2 separate regions of the Homo sapiens genome follow, and region 1 is linked to region 2. The links are contacts of gene promoters, found by promoter capture Hi-C in human tissues and cell types (Jung and others, 2019). All regions are on one chromosome and are shown on one strand. Each heading gives the region's core, a stretch centred on a gene start or on the middle of the fragment in contact. The rest is flanking DNA. Distances are from core to core; before and after follow the strand shown. Region 1 has its middle 11 kb from the start of CACUL1. Region 2 holds the start of PRLHR (prolactin releasing hormone receptor).

The links. Contacts are between HindIII fragments. The study calls those that stand out against the background at their distance.
Region 1: a fragment that was not itself captured here is called in contact with the fragment with the promoter of PRLHR in region 2 in 3 of the 25 tissues and cell types used here (hippocampus, spleen and thymus).

The regions. Positions count from the first base shown.
Region 1 is chr10:118,763,935-118,768,804 of GRCh38, reverse strand. No RefSeq gene overlaps it. Among named protein-coding and RNA genes, the nearest start is that of CACUL1, 11 kb to the right of the region's middle. The HindIII fragment of the contact is 5,691 bases long and covers 1-4,656 here.
Region 2 is chr10:118,593,142-118,597,746 of GRCh38, reverse strand. It overlaps PRLHR (prolactin releasing hormone receptor), which reads left to right and starts at 2,099. Exons shown (of 2, transcript NM_004248.3): 1 at 2,099-2,231; 2 at 2,497-4,605. The coding sequence starts at 2,503. The coding sequence ends at 3,615. RefSeq lists enhancers at 714-1,522, 1,523-2,331, 2,332-3,140. The HindIII fragment of the contact is 7,132 bases long and covers 1-4,605 here.

The sequences.
Region 1 (4,870 bases), core at 562-3,061, 170 kb before region 2:
GTGTACTGTGTTTGTAAAGTCTACAGTAGTGCACAGCAGTGTCCTAGGCCTTCACAGTCACTCACCACTCACTCACTGACTCACCCAGAGCAACTTCCAGCCCTGTAAGCTCCATTCGTGGTAAGTGCCCTATGCAAGTATACCATTTTTATCTTTTATACCATATTTTTTGGCTGTACCTTTTCAATGTTTAGGTATGTTTAGATCCACAACATGTTCCAGTTGCCTACAGTACTCAGTACAGTCACGTGCTGTACAGGTTTGTTGCCTGGGAGCAACAGGCTATGCCATATAACCTAGGTGTGTAGTAGGCTGTGCTGTTGAGGTTTGTATACTCTATGATGTTCCCACAACAACAAAATTGCCTAACAACCCCTTTCTCAGAATGCATTACCATCATTAAGTAACACATGACTGTGTTATTAGGCATGGTGCTCTTTTCCACATGGAAAAGCTGTATAATGCTGTGGCCATCCTCACCCTCAGGCTCCTCAGCACTGGTTTTAAGGGGAGTTCTAGTCTAGAGGAAAGGCAGCCCAGGCCGGATGAAAAAGCCCCTGGTATGGGCCAGGCACCCAGTCGCTTTACAACAGCTATCAGATGCCTTCCCTGACTTAGAATTATACAACCACGTCAATGACCTTCCCATTTTCAAACCTTGAGGATGATGCTTAAACTCTCACCTCGGAGATACTGAATCTCTGATGACTGCACAGGAAGGCCTCTGTTTCCTTACAAAACATGCCTCTCAAAATGTTGGGACAACTGAACGGTTCTCATAAAGCTAAAAATATTATAAAATCCTCAATTACAATTGTCCTTTCCAACAGTCCTTGATAGTACTTTGTTGCCTTTTGAACTTAATTTTGTTCTTTACGTTGCAATTAAACACGTGAATGACTGGCTGAAGTCCCATGAATGATGGATAGAGATTAGAATGCCTGCTTGCCTCCTCCTAATGGTTTCTATCTGTGTCTAAATTGGATTAACTTTATAGCTTTTTTTCTTAATCACTGGTATCAGATCATCCAGTTTTCCATTTTCTACTCATTTTTATGAAGTAATGAGGCAAAACATGCAATTTTTATAAACATATAATATTGACCAGATACGTAAAGGATTGCTGCCAAAACTGACCTGTGGACTAGCAGCAGGCACCCCCGTGCCAAAGCTGATGTTTGGGTTTAGAGTATGAAAGGCAATTTGAGGTATGATGTATGAAAGAGCTGACTGTGTGTGAAACAAGTGAAGTGGAGACTCATTTGTATCTGCTGCCTCTTAAATATGACAAGATAGATACCAACTCCTCCTGGATGATTACTGTGGCCTTCAAAAGGCACCCTGGCCTCTACCCAGGGTTAATCCATTGAGAGTGTTGGTGCCAAGATCGAATAACCAGGTGTCTTGTTGCTCACAGCTGCCAACATCAGATCTGCCTATGGCACCTGGCAGTGATGGCTGACAGTGGAGATCCAGTCCTACATTTCAGTGCCAGGAAGGGCCTCCCTTGCAGGCCACAGCTAAACTGTGTTAGGCCCAGGTACCCTCTTCCTCTAAGACTCCATTGGGATTGGACACCCTGGACCACTCGATGTTGTTTCATCACCCAAAGTACAAGCAATGACTTTTAATACACCTCTGAGTTTTTTTTTTTTTTTTTTTTTTTCCTGAGATGAACTTTCCCTCTTGTTGCCCAGCCTGGAGTGCAATGGCGCAATCTCGGCTCATTGCAACCTCTGCCTCCCGGGTTCAAGCGATTCTCCTGCCTCAGCTTCCCGAGTAGCTGGGATTACAGGCGTGCGCCACCACACCCAGCTAATTTTTGTATGTTTGGTAGAGACAGGGTTTCACCATGTTGGTCAGGCTGGTCTTGAACTCCTGACCTCAGGTGATCCACCTGCCTCGGCCTCGCAAAGTGCTGGAATTACAGGCATGAGCCACTGCGCCCGGCAGCACATTCTTTGATGTATTTTTTGCTTGAAATATTCCCTGCAGGTTCTTGCCTTAACCTGAGCTATTCTCTGAGCACTGCGTCCCTTGTGACCTCTGAAGGGCACACTGTTTTCTCATGTCCCATATTCCTCTGATAGGGAGGTGGTGTTGGTGTCTTCCTTGTTCCCACACTGCTTCCATTTCAATCCTTCCCTTCCCTTTCCGCTGAGGCTCCCACCATTGAAGTTTTCCACCTCACCTGCTCATAGAAGCAATCTCCTGGTCATTATCAACCCCGCCCTCTCTCTCTCTCTTTTTTTTTTTTTCAGATAGAGTCTCACTCCGTCTCCTGGGCTAGAGTGCAGTGGTGCGATCTCAGCCCACTGCAACCTCTGCCTCCAGGATTCAAACAATTCTCCTGCCTCAGCCTCACGAGTAGCTGGGATTACAGGCGCGTGCCATCACACCCAGCTAGTTTTTGTATTTTTTGGTAGGCATGGGGTTTCGCCATGTTGGCCAGGCTGGTCTTGAACTCCTGATCTCAAGTAATCTGCTCACCTTGGCCTCCCAAAGTGCGGGATTACAGGCATGAGCCACCGCGCCCGGCCAACCTCCTCTTTTTTGTTCCTGGATGGCCTTAATCTCCATGCCAGCTCCTGTCATCATTCATTGTCTTGAGGGAAACATTAACATCCCCACGGATGGCCCTTCCAGTCCTCTGGCCTCTTACCTCCCTGGCCTCCTCACCAGGCCTAATTCTAACATTTGCAGCAAGAGTGCAAAATGACTCATTTGTATGTCTAAATATTTAAATGTTATACATACAGCTAACTGCTAAGTAACACACTTCCTATCCTCCTTCCTTGACAAACATACCTTCAGATGATAACAAAATAAAAAATGTATGTAAAGCTATGGTAAAATAACAAGGATGACTGAATGGAACTATTATTGTGTATGTCTGGGTGTTCTTTTGATGGACTGGCAACATGTGGATGAGTAATAAAAAAATACATAATTCATAAATTATATGTATTTTATGAAAGTTAATTTTCTTGCCTTCTTTTAAGTAAATTACCAATTATGTTGTTATAATCAAGACTTTTACATAATTTGTGTTCTATTGAGAGTAATGACAAATTAGGCAACCTTTCTGGGGACATTATGGTTCTTAGGGTGTTTTTCATTAATTTGAAAATGCAGAAACTATGTTCTGCTGAGGTCAGAGCAACTGGAATTATCAATTAAGTTCTTAAAGCCATACTTAGATGGGAAATGAACTATAAATTTAATATATCATGCTCAAACATTTTAATGGGGTTAGGCTGTATATAATCAATCACTGTCACAGAAAATAGTAAAAATATTTTAATTTCATTATATAAATTTCTTTTTTTTTTTTTTTTTTTTGAGACGAAGTCTCGCTCTGTTGCCCAGGCTGGAGTGCAGTGGCGCAATCTCGGCTCACTGCAAGCTCCGCCTCCCAGGTTCACGCCATTCTCCTGCCTCAGCCTCCTGAGTAGCTGGGACTACAGGTGCCTGCCACCACGCCTGGCTAATTTTTTGTATTTTTAGTAGAGATGGGGTTTCACCATGTTAGCCAGGATGGTCTCGATCTCCTGACCTTGTGATCCGCCTGCCTTGGCCTCCCAAAGTGCTGGGATTACAGACGTGAGCCACCGCGCCAGGCCTCGTTATACGAATTTCTACCAGTAATATGAGTTTCACTATCTCTAAGCAACATCAAGATCAATACAGTACTTTTAAGTATTTTCCTTTCAAATTCTTTAATGCTGGGATGTAATAAGAAAATTGACAACAGAAGCATGTTATTCAATTTATTAAAATCTTTTTCCAGATTGTATCCTGATCTAAAATGGCCAAAAATAATCTCCAAAGAAATTAAAGGAAATTTTTGGAAAATCATACATTAATTTTCTTCATGGTCATACAAACATGTTTGTTTCCTTTTAAATTTTCTTTAAAAATTAAAAAAATTAATCATTCAAAAAGTAAAATAGACAAACTTAACTCTAGTTTTCTCTAGTAAGTGACAGTTCACACCAAGTAACTGTGGATAGTGCAAATACGAAAGTAATTTCATTTTCCACTAAAGACCACCATTCACTCATATTTGAACATCATTTATTGTTTCACTGAACTCTTCCAGTACGTCTCATCTATCTTGTCTAAATTAAATTGCTTTAACGCAGCGAGTAGCTCCAGGACCCTGCATGAGAACACAAAAATGGTCACTTGGTGCAACTGGGAAATGATACTTTGCTGTGCAAGAATCTATTGCATCAATGCCAACTGGAAAGGATTTGAGAAGTTAGTTTTCTCTCTCAGTTAAGTGCTTCTGTTGTTCAGATCCTCTCTGCACTCTGAAGCAGTTTCTCTCATTTGTATGACACCACCCAGAAACCTTCATGGCCTCCAGATGTGGTTGCTTTCTGATCTGAGGACCAAGAGTGCAGAGAAGCACTTAATGGGAGTTGCGTGTTGTGAGGCACGAGAGTGAATGTGTAGGGTGTGGTTACGCTGCGCCAGCTCTGAGCACAGAATACCAATGCCTGTATACCCTTGGTAAATTTACTGTGTGTAGCATACAAAGGGCATATACAGAGCCCTTTAAAATGTGGGGCCCATGGCAATGGCCCCTTTTGAGGTGAGGTCTCCTCCTGCCCAGGGACTTTCGCTTCCACTGCATCTTGGCCAACCACTCCCAAGGTCCCACTATACCTGTCTATGTTTCTGTTTGCAAACAACAGAAACCAATGCCAGTTAACTAAAGTAGGAGAGGAATTTATTGGAAGGACGTTGAGTAGCTCACAGAATCAACAAGAAGTTTGAGGAAACTGGCCTAGAACACAGACAGAAAGCAAGGAAATCTGGGCAGTTGAGAATACAGCTGAGGTCACACCAGAGGGGCAGCTTG
Region 2 (4,605 bases), core at 850-3,349:
GGCAACATGGCAAAACCTCACCTCTACAAAAAATTAGGCCAGGCGCAGTGGCTTACGTGTGTAATTCCAGCACTTTGGGAGGCCGAGGTGGGCGGATCACGAGGTCAAGAGATCAAGACCATCCTGGCCAACATGGTGAAACCCCGTCTCTACTAAAAATACAAAATCATCTGGGCATGGTGGCACGTGCCTGTAGTCACAGCTACTCGGGAGGCTGAGGCAGGAGAATCGCTTGAACCTGGGAGGCAGAGGTTGCAGTGAGCTGAGATCACACCACTGCACTCCAGCCTGGCGACAGAGCAAGACTCCGCCTCAAAAGAAACAAATAAACAAAAATTAGTCAGGCATGGTGGTGTGCACCCGTAGTTCCAGCTACTTGAGAGGCTGAGAGGTGGGAGGATGGCTTTGGCCTGGGAGGTTGAGGCTGCAGTGAGCCATGATTGTGCCACTGCACTCCAGCCTGGGTGACAGAGTGAGATCTTGTCCTAACATATACATGTATATATACACACACACTGGTTTTAGCTAAATTGATTATAACTCAGGGACCGTGAGCTTAGGATGGACAGAGGTGCATAACATTGATTACTTTTGTTCCAATATTGACTTTTTTCTATATGAGTGATTCATTTAAATTTGGAGGGTGGAATAAATTGATATTAGTTTCCAGTCTAACTGGAATATCTGCAGCCAGAGGACAAAGTACAAGGACTTATCAGAGAGGAGACAATGAAGCTCCATGCTCTGGAAAAAGGAAACAAGAGGCTGAGGGAATGAGATAGCTTCTAAGGAGGGAGCTTACAAAGGCCCCTCCTCCCCTGGCTCTTGCCCCGTGGGCCAGGCTAATTTGCATTTCAATGAGGACTTAATACTACTGAAGATTTTATGAAACGCCTAAGCTTCTCAAATGTTTGTTACTTTTGTTACCCTAGCTGAAATCTGCAATTACCAGTATTTTTAAAAAATCCTAAAATGAAGAGAAGAGGCCTGTGGGTGTTCAGTCAAGGAGGGAGGGGTCAAGTCTCAGTCCAGGAACTACTCTGTGCTGGGAGAAGCAGCCAGATACGGCACAGGTCGCGGTAGCCGAGAAAGAAAGCGAGAGAAAGGGTGAGCCGGGGAGTCGCTGGGCCAGACTGAAGTGTGCCTGTGTAGAATAACTGGCAGGAGAGCTGCATTTTCTGACCCCGGGAGGTAAAAGACGACGCCGTCCTTGGCACTGAGTGCGGTGACCACCAAGAGGAGCAAAAGTCATGAGTCTCCGACCCCCAGGCCCCCGGCTCAGCTGCCTCCACTCCACCCTACTCTTCTCAGCCCCAGCCCAGAAAGCAGGCAGCGAGGCAGGTCTTTGAACCGGACCAGGTTCCTTCCCCAAACACCCGGATCCAGAGAGGGGCAGGAATTCCCTAGTCATTTTCCCCTGCTCCTCCCCACATCATCCGCCCGAGGGGCGGCAGATCCAGCGGAAGCTGTCCGTGGTGCTGACTCCTGCCTTTGGCTTGGCCGGACCCGCTGCCCGCTGAGCGCGCTGCAGCCAAGCAGGGGGCTCGTGTGGCGGGGCCACGGGAGGGTGAGGGTCCTCAGGTCCGCGACCAGCTCCAGGCTCTGCTGTTAAATCCCAGCCCGAGCCCTCTAGCGTCTCTGCCCTCCGCAACCTGGCCGCTAGGCAGGATCCAGCCTTTAAGAACGGGTCAGTCGTGCCTCTCTCAAGCCCCCAGCTGCATTGCAATCTCCCACCGCTACTTCCTTCCCCGCTCCTTCCCTCCTAAGACTGCACCGGCTCCTCCCGATAGCCTGACGCTTCGCGCCTCTCCTCCGCCCTCCTCCACTGTGCGCTCCTCCGGACCCTGACCCTCCAGGGGCCGTGCAAGCTCCTGCAGTAGAGATTCGTCCTCTTCGCTGCTCTGGCCAGGTTTGCCGGCCCCTCCTCCCGTTTCGGATTCCATCCTCCCCACACTGTCCTCTTCACTAGTTCTCTAAGCACCGAGCATGGCAGAGCGCGCTCCACCCCTATTTTCCATACATGGGAGCTGGAGTGGGGGGCGGAGCTGAGGGGAGGCGCTCCCAGTCCCTCTAAGAAGCTGCTAGCCCACTGGGAAACATTTGGATCCGTTCAGCTCCCGCGGAGAAGCGAGACCGGATCACCGACGTGGGCAGAGGACTACCGAGGGCCAGCAGAAATTCTGCCCCTTCTTCCCGCGAGTGCTTTCCCGCTCTCCAAACCCCACTCCCAGGTAGGATCGCGCTCCTGAGTCTGCCTGCGTGGACTGCGAGGACCGTAAATAGAGGCGGAAGCGTTTAAATAAACCGTATGTTCTAACCGTGCTTAGGTTTATTTTACAGAGGTGAGAGGACAACACTTTTTGCTACTTTTGCTGTTGTTCTGTGGCCGGTTATTCCCAAGGGAGGACTCAGGCGATGGGGGAGGGGCGCGGCTGGTGTAGGAGGTCGGATGGAGTATGGCAAGGGAAGTGACGGACTTTGATTACCTTTGAACAGGTGGCCATGGCCTCATCGACCACTCGGGGCCCCAGGGTTTCTGACTTATTTTCTGGGCTGCCGCCGGCGGTCACAACTCCCGCCAACCAGAGCGCAGAGGCCTCGGCGGGCAACGGGTCGGTGGCTGGCGCGGACGCTCCAGCCGTCACGCCCTTCCAGAGCCTGCAGCTGGTGCATCAGCTGAAGGGGCTGATCGTGCTGCTCTACAGCGTCGTGGTGGTCGTGGGGCTGGTGGGCAACTGCCTGCTGGTGCTGGTGATCGCGCGGGTGCGCCGGCTGCACAACGTGACGAACTTCCTCATCGGCAACCTGGCCTTGTCCGACGTGCTCATGTGCACCGCCTGCGTGCCGCTCACGCTGGCCTATGCCTTCGAGCCACGCGGCTGGGTGTTCGGCGGCGGCCTGTGCCACCTGGTCTTCTTCCTGCAGCCGGTCACCGTCTATGTGTCGGTGTTCACGCTCACCACCATCGCAGTGGACCGCTACGTCGTGCTGGTGCACCCGCTGAGGCGGCGCATCTCGCTGCGCCTCAGCGCCTACGCTGTGCTGGCCATCTGGGCGCTGTCCGCGGTGCTGGCGCTGCCCGCCGCCGTGCACACCTATCACGTGGAGCTCAAGCCGCACGACGTGCGCCTCTGCGAGGAGTTCTGGGGCTCCCAGGAGCGCCAGCGCCAGCTCTACGCCTGGGGGCTGCTGCTGGTCACCTACCTGCTCCCTCTGCTGGTCATCCTCCTGTCTTACGTCCGGGTGTCAGTGAAGCTCCGCAACCGCGTGGTGCCGGGCTGCGTGACCCAGAGCCAGGCCGACTGGGACCGCGCTCGGCGCCGGCGCACCTTCTGCTTGCTGGTGGTGATCGTGGTGGTGTTCGCCGTCTGCTGGCTGCCGCTGCACGTCTTCAACCTGCTGCGGGACCTCGACCCCCACGCCATCGACCCTTACGCCTTTGGGCTGGTGCAGCTGCTCTGCCACTGGCTCGCCATGAGTTCGGCCTGCTACAACCCCTTCATCTACGCCTGGCTGCACGACAGCTTCCGCGAGGAGCTGCGCAAACTGTTGGTCGCTTGGCCCCGCAAGATAGCCCCCCATGGCCAGAATATGACCGTCAGCGTGGTCATCTGATGCCACTTAGCCAGGCCTTGGTCAAGGAGCTCCACTTCAACTGGCCTCCTAGGGCACCACTCGAGGTCAATCTGGTGCTTATTCTCAGCACCAGAGCTAGCTAAGCCAACATAGGGCAACATTTCCAGCCCAGCCCTCTTGTCCGGCTGTCTGTCTTGTCCTTGTGTGTTTGTAAAATGTTAAGCGGGCTTTGGTGAGAGTCTTGCTCTTTGCTTGGGGGAGGCCAAAGAGAGGGAAGAGGATTTCTTATTTCTTCTTTATGCCCTTGAAGGACAAACAAAACTTTTTCTCCACGTTCAGAAAAGTATTTCAGAACCACGATTGCCTTCCTGGCGTCCCCTCCTCCTGCTCGTTGGTGAAATGAACAATATGAATGGGATTTAAAAGGAATGCATTGGGCTTGGTAAAGATTTTCAGTTTGCCTTTAGAAAAAGGACCCAGCTGAGAGTACCATGATATTGCTTAGTCCATTTGAACCCTTGCATTCCTAGAATTTCAGGTAAATATGTATTAAAACTCTACATCTAGGATTTCAGCATTTCCTGAGTAAGACCTTTATATGCCAAAAGGGTTTCGTTTTAAAACCACTTGAGTTTATAGTACAAAAACACCTACAAGCTCCCTTTAGAAAGGTCTTGCTATTGTTTCTCCCCTTTCCTCCCCAACTACTATTTAAAAATGATGAGACGAATTAGTCAATGAAGAGATAGATAAATAAAGAGGAAAAGGTCCAATTCACTTAAGAGGTCATTCAATTGTACCTAAGGACAGACATCCTCTGTGTATGTGTGTTTGTGTATGTGTGTGTATGTGTGGGTACACATTCAGTGTTTGCCACAAAGTGGGCACTCAAATATTTGGTTTTCTGAATACTCAATGTAAACTGTGTAGCGTGGCATTCTCCTGCAGTCTCTAATTGCTCACTTGCAACAGATCAACAGCTGTCATCTGACTGCTCAGCACCTGCTCTGTAGTGATTCTTGGAACATG